Linked DNA regions of Homo sapiens: regions 2, 3 and 4 are each linked to region 1. Evidence: promoter capture Hi-C in human tissues and cell types (Jung and others, 2019). All regions are on one chromosome and are shown on one strand. The core of a region is centred on a gene start or on the middle of the fragment in contact, and the rest is flanking DNA. Distances in the headings are between cores, read along the strand shown. Region 1 holds the start of NDUFA12 (NADH:ubiquinone oxidoreductase subunit A12). Region 2 holds the start of MIR7844 (microRNA 7844). Region 3 has its middle 11 kb from the start of MIR3685. Region 4 overlaps VEZT (vezatin, adherens junctions transmembrane protein).

Region 1 (2,964 bases), core at 240-2,739:
AAGGCGGGTGGATCACGAGGTCAGGAGTTCAAGACCAGCCTGGCCAATATGGTGAAACCCCATCTCTACTAAAAAATACAAAAATTAGCCGGCCATGGTGGCGCCCGCCTGTGGTCCCAACTACTCAGGCAGGCTGAGGCAGGAGAATCGCTGGAACCCAGGAGGTGGAGGTTGCAGTGAGCCGAGATCGCGCTACTGCACTCCAGCCTGGCCGACAGAGACTCCATCTCAAAAAAAAAAAAAAAAAAAAAAAAAAAGAACAAAAACACTTCAAAATTTGATAGGTGAAAAATATATAACACTGTTTTTAAAGTTGCATTTCTGTTGTTACAAGTGAGAATGAGCATTTTTCCATACCTTCATTGGCTGTTTACTTTTCTTTTTTCTGTAAATTATCTTTTTTCATTTTCTATTGAGTTTTTCATCCTTTTCCAGGTGTTTTGTAAAAGCTCATTGCATAATATGGAAAATAGACTCAAATCAAATCCCAATCCCAATCCAATTATTCATACTAAAAAATACTGCACTCACCAAAAAATTGCTTGTTGTCTTCATAGTATTTGTTTCCATATTTGTCTTCCCCCACTAATGTACCAACCTTCGCATCATTTGTCCTGTGAATACCCAAAAGAAAACAGACATTTTAGAATGATTCTTAGTTCAAAACATAAACGGAAATAAAGTGAGAGTAACAACTTTCAGACACAAGGGCTGCTGCATCAACTAGCAAAATGAAGAAGTGCTGGGGATGGGAAAAGATGAATTGACAACTGATGTGCTCAAATTACACTAAAAATATAAATGTAGTCTCTTCAGATTACAGGACTACTTGTATCTACTATCCCTCAGCCAGGAGGCACTGGAATTAGCAAAACCTTTAGGAAATCAAAAAGCCAAAGTATTTCATCTTCTTACAATGATACGAAGGTCTCCAGGCTCTTTCATTCCACTCTGGGTCTCCATTTAGGTTTCTGCGAAACTATGCTGCTCGTGGGATCAGTGAATGTCAGGAAGAGAAGGGACCATCATTATTACCTTCAACGCCTTACAGACAAGGAACTGTACGGCAGTGCAGGGAAAAAAACTTTACCAGGGTCACTGAGTTAATGTCTTGTAATCCTCATTACTCTCCAGGGCGTGGGAAAAGAGGGGAGCCCAGATGCCCTTGCCTCCGAGTCACAGCTCTGACTCTACAGATAGCTTCGGTCTTGTATCGGGGATATATGGGACAGAGACCAGCCTGGGGGTGGCAAGGCAGAGATTGGGGCGGTTGTCCTTGACAAGAGCTGTGGATTCTCCAAGGTGACCCGAGCCTGGGACCCCTTCCAAGAAATCAGCCAGCGAAAGTCCAGCCCCAGAGGCCAAGAGCATGGCTCTGGCCGCCTACCTGAAAAAAACCCGTAGATAGCCTCGGAGACCGCCGTGGCCGGTGATCTGCTGCAGCCCGCGTTTCAGGACCTGCACTAACTCCATCTTGCCTCGCTGGCCCCGCCTCCCGGGTGCGCCGAGCAAAACCCACCGGATGGAAGCTGCCACTCAGCCGCAGGAAGCCCACGCCCAGAAGGTTCTCACGCGAACGCCAGACGTGGTGGCTCTGCGCGTGCGCAGAGCTAGGTCTTGCCTACGCGGTCATGTTCTGGCTTCCCAAGTAGGCAGAATTGGTTTCCCCTGGAAGCAAAGGTACCTTAAAATTTAGTTTTCAGAGGTTAAATCTAGAAGGCGGGCATATGCTGGAAAGCTCACCTACACGAGGCTTTCTCACACGGGGATTCCCCCTTTGGGAATTTCAGTTTCCTCATCTAAAAATAATTGGCTCTGGTGGGCGCGGTGGCTCACTGTTGTAATCCCAGCACTTTGGGAGGCCGGGTAGGGAGGATCGTTTGAGCCCAGGAGTTCGAGACCAGCCTCGCCAACACAGCGAGAATTCTGTCTCTACAAAAAAAAAAAAAAAATTAAAAATTAGCTGGATGTGGTGGCGCGTGCCCGTAGTCCCAGCTACTCGGTAGGCTGAGGCTTAGATGGGAGCATCGCTTGAGCCTAAAAAATTTCAATATTACTTCATTTGTTAACCACAATTCTTCTACAAAGAGAAACCTCCCTTCAACTATTTGGCTCCTGAGATACAATTAATGTAGGAAAGGCAGTATGGGTGCTTGATTCTCTTACTTTTTTTTTGTTTTTTAATTTTAGAGACAGGCTCTCTGTCACCCAGGCTGAAATACAGTGGTGTGATCATAGCTCACTGCAGCCTCAAACTCCTGTGCTCAAGCAGTCCTCCCATTTAAGTAAGTGCCACCACCCCTGGCTAATTTTTTTTTTTTTAGAGATGGGCATCTTGTTATGTTGCCCAGGTTGGTTTTGAACTCTGGCCTCAAGTGATCCTCCTGCCTCAGCCTCTCAAAATGCTGGGATTACAGGTGTAAGCCACCACACCCAGCCGATTCTTTCCCTTATGTGTGTTTTCAAAATAACAATTTAGTTCCCTAGCTTTTTTTTTTTTTTTTTGGTAGTGGTGGTTAAAAACACAAAATATAAAATTTACCATTTTAACCATTTTTAAGTGTACAGTAGTGTTAACCACATGCACATTGTTGCGCAACAGATCTCTAGAACTTATTCTTCTTGCAAAACAGAAACTTTATATCCATGGAACAACTTTTTCCTCTTTCTCCATCCCCTGCCAACCACCATTCTACTTCTGTTTCTAAGAGTTTAACTACTTTAGATACTTCATATAAGTAGAATCATGAGGTGTTTGTCTTTTAGGACCTGGCTTATTTCACTTAGCATGATATCCACAAGGCTCATCCATAGTGTAGTATATGACAGGATTTTCTTCTTTTTATAAATGTTGAATAATATTCCACTGTATGTATATGCCACCCAGTTACCTGTCCATAAACATTTCTGCTGATTCCGCCTCTTGGCTATTGTGAATAATGCTGCAGTGAACACGGGTGTGCA
Region 2 (2,964 bases), core at 284-2,783, 430 kb before region 1:
CCATTCTCTCAGACTATGGAACATTCTGTCACATTTTTTTCCTTCAGGAGATTTCCCTAAGAAGAGCTGTTTGCAAAATATTGCACTTAATTTGAATCCAGGGGGACCTGATGTCTCCTGGAAGAAAACGTACACTCACATGCCTTCCTGCCTGCAGCAGATGGCGGGAGTGGTGGGACAAGGGGCTCAACAGCAGTTTCCATGAACATTGTTTCCATCTTCCTCTTTGTTATACACACAGAGACACAGATTTAAAGGAAAGTATCATCTGGGCTGAAGGCGGTGAATGGTATCCCCCAAACAGGGATGTGAACTTTTGAATGTTTTCAGCTCAGAGGCAGTATGGTCGTCCTAATACCTCAGGACTTATGTTCAGTGAGATGTTAAGAGACAGGTGGCAACCTTGGCTCAAACACTGGACTTAATTTATTTTATTCTTGCTAGTCTTTCACTTCTCAAAGACGATGCTCTCAATCTTCATCCAGGTGAACTGCTCCCACTAATCTAGCCACCATTCAGTCACACCCTACGTCCTCGTTTCCTCATGCTTTCAGCGTTCCGACACCTCAGTGCACTTGAACTTTAGAGGCTATGGTTCGGTTGTCCTTCAAGGAAAAAACTGCAACATGACCATCATTTGTTTTCATTTCCTGAGTAAGCTTTGCAGTCCCTCACAGACCTGTGAATAAGATGAATCACATAAAGTGAATCATATCCTCCAGGGGGGCTTATCACAATCAAGATTTGCCAAAAAACAGCCAGGCATGGTGGCTTGTGCCTGCAGTCCCGGCTGCTTGGGAGGCTGAGGTGGGAGGATCCCTTGAAGCAAGGAGTTTGCAACCAGCCTGAGCAATATTTAGCAGAGCCCTGTCTCAAAAAAGAAAAAAGATTTGCCAAAACACAAACCTTCAGAGTAGTGCTCACAGGATTCCAAATTAATGTTAAAGTCACAGTCTGATGAGGGATTTGAAAACATTCCTGCACACTCTGAAGGCTGGGCATTTGCTAGCCAGTTGAGACAAAATCAGGTGTTGGTTGCCTGGGTATGAGAAGGTGAAAGCCCCATTCATAAATCCCTATGCCTTCCCATTTAAAGTGTAACAAAACCCCTCAGGTAGACTTGTTGGATAACAGGTGTGTGATAAGATTTCCACGTTACAGGGTCATACACGACTGACTGCTGTGGACACTGAGTACATGACGGGACCTATGGTCCCCTGGAGAGAAGCAGGGTGGATCACACGGGGACCATAGGCCACAGTGTTTAACACTGCCCAAGCCTGTGATTCTTCATTCCCTGAATCATGCATATCCTTGCTTTTTATAGGACTCACAGAAAACAACCATTAGCAATTGTGAAGCTCAATTCTGACAGAGACTTAGGAGAGAGACCTCTTTCTTCAGGATCACCAATTATGCCAAGGTCTCAATATACAGAGGTTTACCACGCTGGGCTGGTCAGGTGGGCAGGAAATCGGTCTGATTAAGGCAGTGAGCAAGGTAGGAGAGCTCTGAAACAGATTCGTGTTAACGAAGTACAAGGACTGAGTTGGCAACTGCTACGGAGTTAAGAGAATTGTAGTTATTTACACCACACAGTCCTAGTTTTTCTTACACACGAGTCCGCACAATCATTCACTGTAAAATTTGGTAGTATGCACAGAGTTTTCTTTAAAATAAAAACTTGAAAGAACTTGAAGGCAGGAACCAGTGGCTTCATCTTGGTATTATCATCCTTTCTATGGCACACAGGATATGGTCCCAGTTTTTACAAAATATAGCAAGAAGAGTCACGGCAAAGAAGGTGCCAAGAATGTGGCAGCGACTCTTCATCATGGGTGAGACGAACTTCGCGATGGTGGACACACACACTAAGATGACAGTCATGAAGGCCAGGATCACGTTGATGCACCTCCCCAGGAGAACTTTAGCATTCACGGTGTCTGTCTGCAGAGCTTGCTGCTCTTGCTGGTGGAGCTCCAGCTTAGAAATGCGAGTCTGGCAGGATTCCAAGGCTTCCTGTGAGCAAGAGGGAGAGCAAGGGTCAAACGGTGTTGGGATGGTGAGCAACACGTGAGTGCTCGCTCAGCTGTACACAAAAGCCCCAGCTCAGAAAGCCCAATGCCCAGGCGGCTGCAAATCCCCAAACCGATGATGATGGTGATAGACAAAGATGTGGAACAAGAATCCCAGGCTCATTTTCTCCTGTTGTTCACGAGTAGAAGAGCATGTGGATACAACCACAAAATACCATAAATGAGGAAGTATGGCTAAGTTTTTTGACTTTACCTGTTTTTTTTGAGATGTAGTCTTGCTCTGTCGCCAGGCTGGAGTGCAGTGGTGCGATCTCAGCTCACTGCAACCTCCGCCTCCTGGGTTCAAGCAACTCTCCTGCCTCAGCCCCCCAAGTAGCTGGGACTACAGGTGCGCACCACCATGTCTGGCTAATTTTTGTATTTTTAGTAGAGATGGGGTTTCGCCATATTGGCAAGGAAGGTCTCGATCTCCTGACCTCGTGATCGGCCCACCTCGGCCTCCCAGAATGCTGGGATTATAGGTGTGAGCCACCATGCCCAGCCGACTTCATCTTTTTTTTTTTTTTTTTTTTTTGAGACAGAGTTTCACTCTGTCACCCAGGCTGGAGTGCAGTGGCGTGATCTCGGCTCACTGCAACCTCTGCCTTCTGGGTTTAAGCAATTCTCCTGCCTCAGCCTCCTGAGTAGCTGGGATTACAGGTGCACGCCACCACGCTTGGCTAATTTTTGTATTTTTAGTAGAGACAGGGTTTTACCATGTTGGCCAGGCTGGTCTCAAACTCCTGACCTCAAGTGATCTGCCTGCCATGGCCTCCCACAGTGGTGGAATTACAGGCGTGAGCCACCATGCCCAGCCTGACTTTACCTATTTTTGAAATAAAGTGATATAAAATATTGGTGCCTGTTGGTGCCATCAGGGACAAAGCAG
Region 3 (2,964 bases), core at 155-2,654, 320 kb after region 1:
GGCAGATGTGGGCAGATCGCCTGAGGTCAGGAGTTCAAGACCAACCTGGCCAACATGGTGAAACCCCGTCTGTACTAAAATATAAAAATTAGCTGGGCGTGGTGGTGCATGCCTGCAATCCCAGCTACTCGGGAGCCTGAAGCAGGAGAATCGCTTGAACCTGGGAGGCAGCAGTTGCAGTAACCCAAGATCATGCTGCTGCACTCCAGCCTGGGTGACAGAGCTAGACTCTGTCTCAAAAAAAAAAAAAAAACTATCACGACATCAATGTCAATCAGATTTTCATACTTCCTTGGTAGGTACTGGTTTTTCTCTCAGTCTACGAAAAGCTTTTTCTTAAGGCTCCAAGTAGAAGACATGTAAGCCTCTGTTCAAACATGCCTCTAAAAGCAGAAACTGGAAATGGGACTACAGGGTGACTGGCTGCTCACATACCATGTTTGGCTGGTGGGATTTGGTGAGGGAAGTTACTAAGTATATCCACATTAAGAGAGGACTTCCATTTCCCTTCTCTCTGTGACCATCCAGCCCCCCTTTAACACTGTGACCATTCCCCAAAGCTCAGCATGATGAAATCTCTGTTTCTTACCAATAACTGACCCCTAAGTTCTTAAACTTGTTTTGATAACCACATCCCTGTTGACTTGCCATACAGTCACAGAAAAACCTCTCAATGCAGCTTTATAAGATAGGCCTCCTTGCCAAGGAGAACCTGCATTCTAATTCCTCAGATTCAAACCAGACATGCCCAAACCACCTGCTTCTAGATATTTGTACTGGTCTCCATGGTACCAGACTCACATACTTAGAGTGAACTTTGAAGAGTTCAAAGCCACACTGAAGGAGGTACTAGACTTGGAAAGAAAACAGAATGAAAAATTCAATTATTTGTAATTGTCTAATTATTAGTTGGTTTTCTTCAGATTAATTCTTTTTGTTTTGTTTTGTTTTGTTTTGTTTTGTTTTGTTTACAAACTCTGTTTTTTGAGACAGAGTCTTGCTCTGTTGCCAGGCTGGAGTGCAGTGGCATGATCTTGGCTCACTGTAACCTCTGCTTCCCGGGTTCAAGAAATTCTCCTGCCTCAGCCTCCCGAGTAGCTGGGATTACAGGCATGCAACACCACGCCCAGCTAATTTTTGTATTTTTAGTGTAGATGGGGTTTCACCTTGTTGGCCAGGATGGTCTCCATCTCCTGACCTCATGATCCGCCCGCCTTGGCCTCCCAAAGTGCTGGGATTACAGGCGTGAGCCACCACGCCTGAACAGATTAATTCTTTTCTTAAACTCCATGCAGTATTTATTTTGTTTTTTAGAGGAGAACTAGGGGCCCATAAAAATAGCTATAAGTATTTATGTTTCTGTGGCCCATCTTGTACGGCTCTCACTGGGTAAGGTGTTAAAAGTGAAACTGCTGTTTAGCTTTCAAGCATATTCTGTTTGTGTGAATTCTCCCTGTCCTAAGCTTCAATTACTTGATTTTTCTTTGAGACAGAGTCTCTGTTGCCCAGGCTGGAGTGCAGTGGCACGATCTTGGTTCACTGCAACCTCCGCCCCCTGCATTCAAGCGATTCTCCTGCCTCAGCCTCCTGAGTAGCTGGGACTACAGGCGCATGCCACCATGCCCTGCTGATTTTTTAGTAGAGGCAGGGTTTCACCATGTTAGCCAGAATGGTCTTGATCTCCTGACTTCATGATCTGCCTGCCTCTGCCTCCCAAAGTGCTGGGATTACAGATGTGAGCCAACGCGCCTGGCCACATTTCCTTGATTTTTCTAGCCACTCTCTCTGTTATCATGCAGGAAAAAGTGGAGAAAAGGTAATTTACTTAGAAGAATAAAGAGCAATCAATTTCACTCTCAATACTTTCCCCTGTAAAAGCCCTAATGGAAGTGTCACCCAACCTTCCTAACTAGCAGTGTTATATTAGGTTGCCGCAAAAGTAATTGCAGTTTTTACCATTAAAAGTATGCAATTACTTTGCACCAACCTAATAGGAAGCAAACTTTCAAAGTCATTGATCTCTCAACAGCTATGCCTTTCTATTCATGTTACACTATGGAATTAGGATAGGCACCTATGAAGACTTTTCCAAACTAGAGCTCATGGCTAAACACGTGATTTTGCATGTGATTGCACAGGTGAGTCAAATCAGGCTCACATTATATCTCACTTTATCAGTGAGGCCAATCAGACTTTATCTCTTATGGGCTGCATCTGAAGCAGAAACTTTCCAAGATAGACAACATGAAAAGTTGATGCCATCTGGAAGCAGCGCCCTGGAAAGAAGGGTGCAGAGTGTCTGCTGCTGAGATTATTGAGGCTGCCCTGGCTCCCGCCTCTCCCAGGGTTTTACCAAGGAGCTGATGAAGGCTGTCTTTGACTCTGTAAATTGCCCTAAATCCTTTAAACCAACACCCCACTTAGGTTAATCAGAATTGGTTCCTGTTGCTTGCAACTAAAGATCTTTGGTTGATTAAGAAACAAAACACAGACCTGCATGCCTGTTAAGTGGAGTGGAGGATAACACTAGGAGGAAGAATGTCAATTTTTTTTGTCACTACCTCTTCCTTGTTGTTCAATGTATTTATAATTAGAAGGTACATTTAGAAATTCAAAAAGGAAGGAAACCTTTGAGCTTTGATACAGAATAATTTATTCGGGAACATTTGCTGGCTGAGCCAAACAGATTTCTAGTTTGTGTGCTATTTGTACAGCTCCATGAAAATCAGTTCACTTCCTCTACAGCAAAAATAATTTTTATGACACTCTTAACCTTGATGTCTGACTACATCCTTCTTGTTATTTTTTTTTTTTTTTTTTGAGGGAGCATTGGGGATGAGGTCCTTTTTTTTCAACCTTTTAAAAATTCAAATTCAGTGGTTTTTACTATATTCACAAGGTTGTACAACCATTACTACTATCTACTTCAAGAACATTCTCATCCCCCTAAAATAAACCCCATAT
Region 4 (2,964 bases), core at 293-2,792, 290 kb after region 1:
CATTTGAGGTCAGGAGTTCAAGACCAGCCTGGCCAACATGGCGAAACCCCATCTCTACTAAAAATACAAAAATTAACAAGGCATGGTGGCGCGTGCCTGTAGTCCCAGCTACTCGAGAGGCTGAGGCAGGAGAATCACTTGAACCCGGGAGGCGGAGGTTTCAGTGAGCCAAGATCACGCCACTGCACTCCAGCCTGGGCAACAGAGGGAGACTCCATCTCAAAAAGAAAAAAAGAAAGAAAAGAAAAGAAAAGAAAAAAAAGGAATTAAAACCTAGACCAGTGAGCCACATCATTAGCATTATTTAAGTGGTTTGAGCACTTTAGTAGATGGGAGGGGAGCAGGGTGCCTGTGGGCGTACTCCCCATACTCTGATTTCAGCAGAGTGGGGTAGCTGGTAATACAAAAGCCTTACATTCCTTTCTGTTTCTCACCCTTCTTTTCTTAAGTCAAACTTCATGGGAGACAGGGAAGGAATCAGGGGAAGCTTAATACTTGACAGTATCAACCTAGCTAATTCTTAGTTGAATTAATGCCTATGGATTTCTAAGTAGGTAGAGTGTGGATTCTCTTCCATTTTACAGTATCTGTGTGGACCCTCGAAATCAACTGCCCTGCTTTTCCCTCCTCACTAGAAGTACATAGATTACCTATACTTCTGGAAAGTTCCTCCAGTTCTCTTTTTTTTTTTCCCCTCAGGAGCCCTATGTTTTCTCCTGTCCAGATCTGCATTTCTTGGTTTTATCATTCCTCTTTCTTCCCATTGGCCCCCTTTATAGCCCAGGTCCTCAGTAGATTATCCTTGTACATTAAAATACCTTCTTAGCTGACTTCCATTTTCAGTACTTTTTTCTTCTAAGCTATCTTGCAAACTCTTTGCAGATTTTTCTCCAACACTGCATTGATGATGGCTCTCTATCTTAAAACCTATAGTGGTTTCTCCCTTTCTTATTGTGTTGAATCTAAACTCTTTTTCCTGTTTTCAAGTCTCTTCATCATAAGAATTCATCTATCCAATTATATTTTCTACTGTTTTTACTATAGATATCTTCTTATGTTTATCGAATTAAACTACAGTTCACAAATGTGTTATTTTTATTCATGAAAAAAATTCATGCTGGCCAAGCACAGTGGCTCACGCCTCTAATTCCAACACTTTGGGAGGCCAAGGCAGGTGGATCACTTGAGGTCAGGAGTTCAAGACCAGCCTGGCCAACATGGCGAAACCCCCTCTCTACTAAAAATACAAAAATTAGCCAGGTGTGATGGCGCACACCTATAATCCCAGCTGCTCTGGAGGCTGAGGCAGGAGAATCGCTTGAACCTGGGAGGTGGAGGTTGCAGTGAGCCGACATCGCACCACTGCACTCCAGCCTGGGTGACAGAGTGAGACTCTCTCTCAAAAAATAATAATAATAATAATAATAATAATAATTCATGCTTACCCCTTTACCAAGAATTCTGCCTTCTCCACCAAGCTGTCCTCTCTACTAGTCTCTCCTTCTCCATGAATCCTTCTCTGAGTGCTCCAGCTCTGCCGCCTCTCCTAACACTACAGACCCTCACACTAGAGGAACATTGTGATAAAATATAAAGGAAGTCTTGAACCCCAAAGCATATAGCAGAGAAGGGAAATGATTAACAGATTGATTTCCTGCAATCTGTTCATTCATATACTGGGCCTACATACATCAGAGATTAATTTTAGGCACTGTTGTTTTCTATATGTTCAGGGTTTTGTTTTGTTTTGTTTTGTTTGTCTCTGTAACAAAATTACAGTCTTCTTAAATAGGGGCCTTATTATCCCACAGCATTCATTCAGCAAATTACTCATTCAACAAGTAGTTATTAGGTACTTGTTATATGTCAGGCACTGTTTACTGCTGTATCCCTAGCGCAAAGATCAAGAGACAAAATGTAAAGCCTCCTACCTGCCTCAAGGCTTAAATTCTAACACACTCGTCAATTGATCCTCTCATTACTCAGATTATATCCACCCCATTTAATTAGTAATAATTGTGAACTATCAACCAACTTCTAATATATGTTGCTTCCTTTAAGAGCTAACAGATTTATAAACTAAGAATGTACATATATTGAAAATAGCATTGTATATAAACTTATATCCTTTTTTATTGTTTAGTGTTTCTTCATATAGCTTTAAAATTATGCTATTGACATTATGGGAAAGATTTATCAATGAGAGAAATGTGTCTCTTTTTCAGGTATGTGCTTTTGATATAGTTTACATTGGAAAGGGTCATAATGCTGTTTTAGTTTGTGAAAATAAGTAAAAAGCTGCTGATACCATAGAATGCTTTTCCCATGAAAAATTTCAGTACATCTTCCAGAGCTGTTTTCATCTCTGCCTACAGGGGTAAAGTCCGCATGGAATTAGAGGGGGAAAGTCTGCACTGGAACCTGCTGTGGCCATTTTTTTTCTGTTGTTGCTGCTTCTCTAGTGGAGTTACTGCAGCTTAGGGATGGTTCCTGGAAGTGGACACATTTTACAAAAACGTTTTTTAAATACACGCCAGCTCTTCGAGAAGCACTTTTTTCCTTCCGTCATGCTTCATACTATATTGTATTGTACTAACCCCTCATGCTGGGATGAGCGACTGCCTAGCAAGCAACCCACTGCCTACTAACATCAAGAGGGGCTAAATAAAACTGCATTTTCCTTGCAAGGACAACTTCTACCGTATGAATATATATTATATTTATGTATTATATTTTGTACAATAGTTGATCTTGAATGCAGACTTCATTTGTATTTTTCGTGGTACTACAAAATGTGTAGAAGTTATGGCTTTTCTTTCATTAGGGTCTTGTTAGGTGGTTGGCAAGTAAGTTAAATTGTATGTTGCATTTTTTTCCATGCTGTTTTAACTTGTAAATATATATGTATACATATGGAAGATATTATTATTATCTAGATTACTTTAAGCCTTTTATCTGATGTAT

Evidence for each region. Contacts are between HindIII fragments. The study calls those that stand out against the background at their distance.
Region 2: a contact is called between a fragment that was not itself captured here and the fragment with the promoter of NDUFA12 in region 1, in 1 of the 25 tissues and cell types used here (lymphoblastoid cells).
Region 3: a fragment that was not itself captured here is called in contact with the fragment with the promoter of NDUFA12 in region 1 in 1 of the 25 tissues and cell types used here (small bowel).
Region 4: a contact is called between a fragment that was not itself captured here and the fragment with the promoter of NDUFA12 in region 1, in 1 of the 25 tissues and cell types used here (H1 embryonic stem cells).

Annotation. Positions count from the first base shown.
Region 1 is chr12:95,002,208-95,005,171 of GRCh38, forward strand. It overlaps NDUFA12 (NADH:ubiquinone oxidoreductase subunit A12), which reads right to left and starts at 1,490. Exons shown (of 4, transcript NM_018838.5): 1 at 1,388-1,490; 2 at 532-614. The coding sequence starts at 1,473. RefSeq lists enhancers at 1,121-1,748, 1,213-1,612. The HindIII fragment of the contact is 12,199 bases long and covers 1-2,964 here.
Region 2 is chr12:94,569,719-94,572,682 of GRCh38, forward strand. TMCC3 (transmembrane and coiled-coil domain family 3) reads right to left here. Exons shown (of 4, transcript NM_020698.4): 4 at 1-2,019. The coding sequence ends at 1,717. MIR7844 (microRNA 7844) reads right to left here and starts at 1,634; the gene lies at 1,513-1,634. The HindIII fragment of the contact is 6,963 bases long and covers 1-2,964 here.
Region 3 is chr12:95,319,389-95,322,352 of GRCh38, forward strand. No RefSeq gene overlaps it. Among named protein-coding and RNA genes, the nearest start is that of MIR3685, 11 kb to the left of the region's middle. The HindIII fragment of the contact is 3,360 bases long and covers 1-2,964 here.
Region 4 is chr12:95,296,719-95,299,682 of GRCh38, forward strand. All of the region lies in intron 11 of VEZT (vezatin, adherens junctions transmembrane protein), which reads left to right. Among named protein-coding and RNA genes, the nearest start is that of MIR331, 10 kb to the right of the region's middle. The HindIII fragment of the contact is 4,254 bases long and covers 1-2,964 here.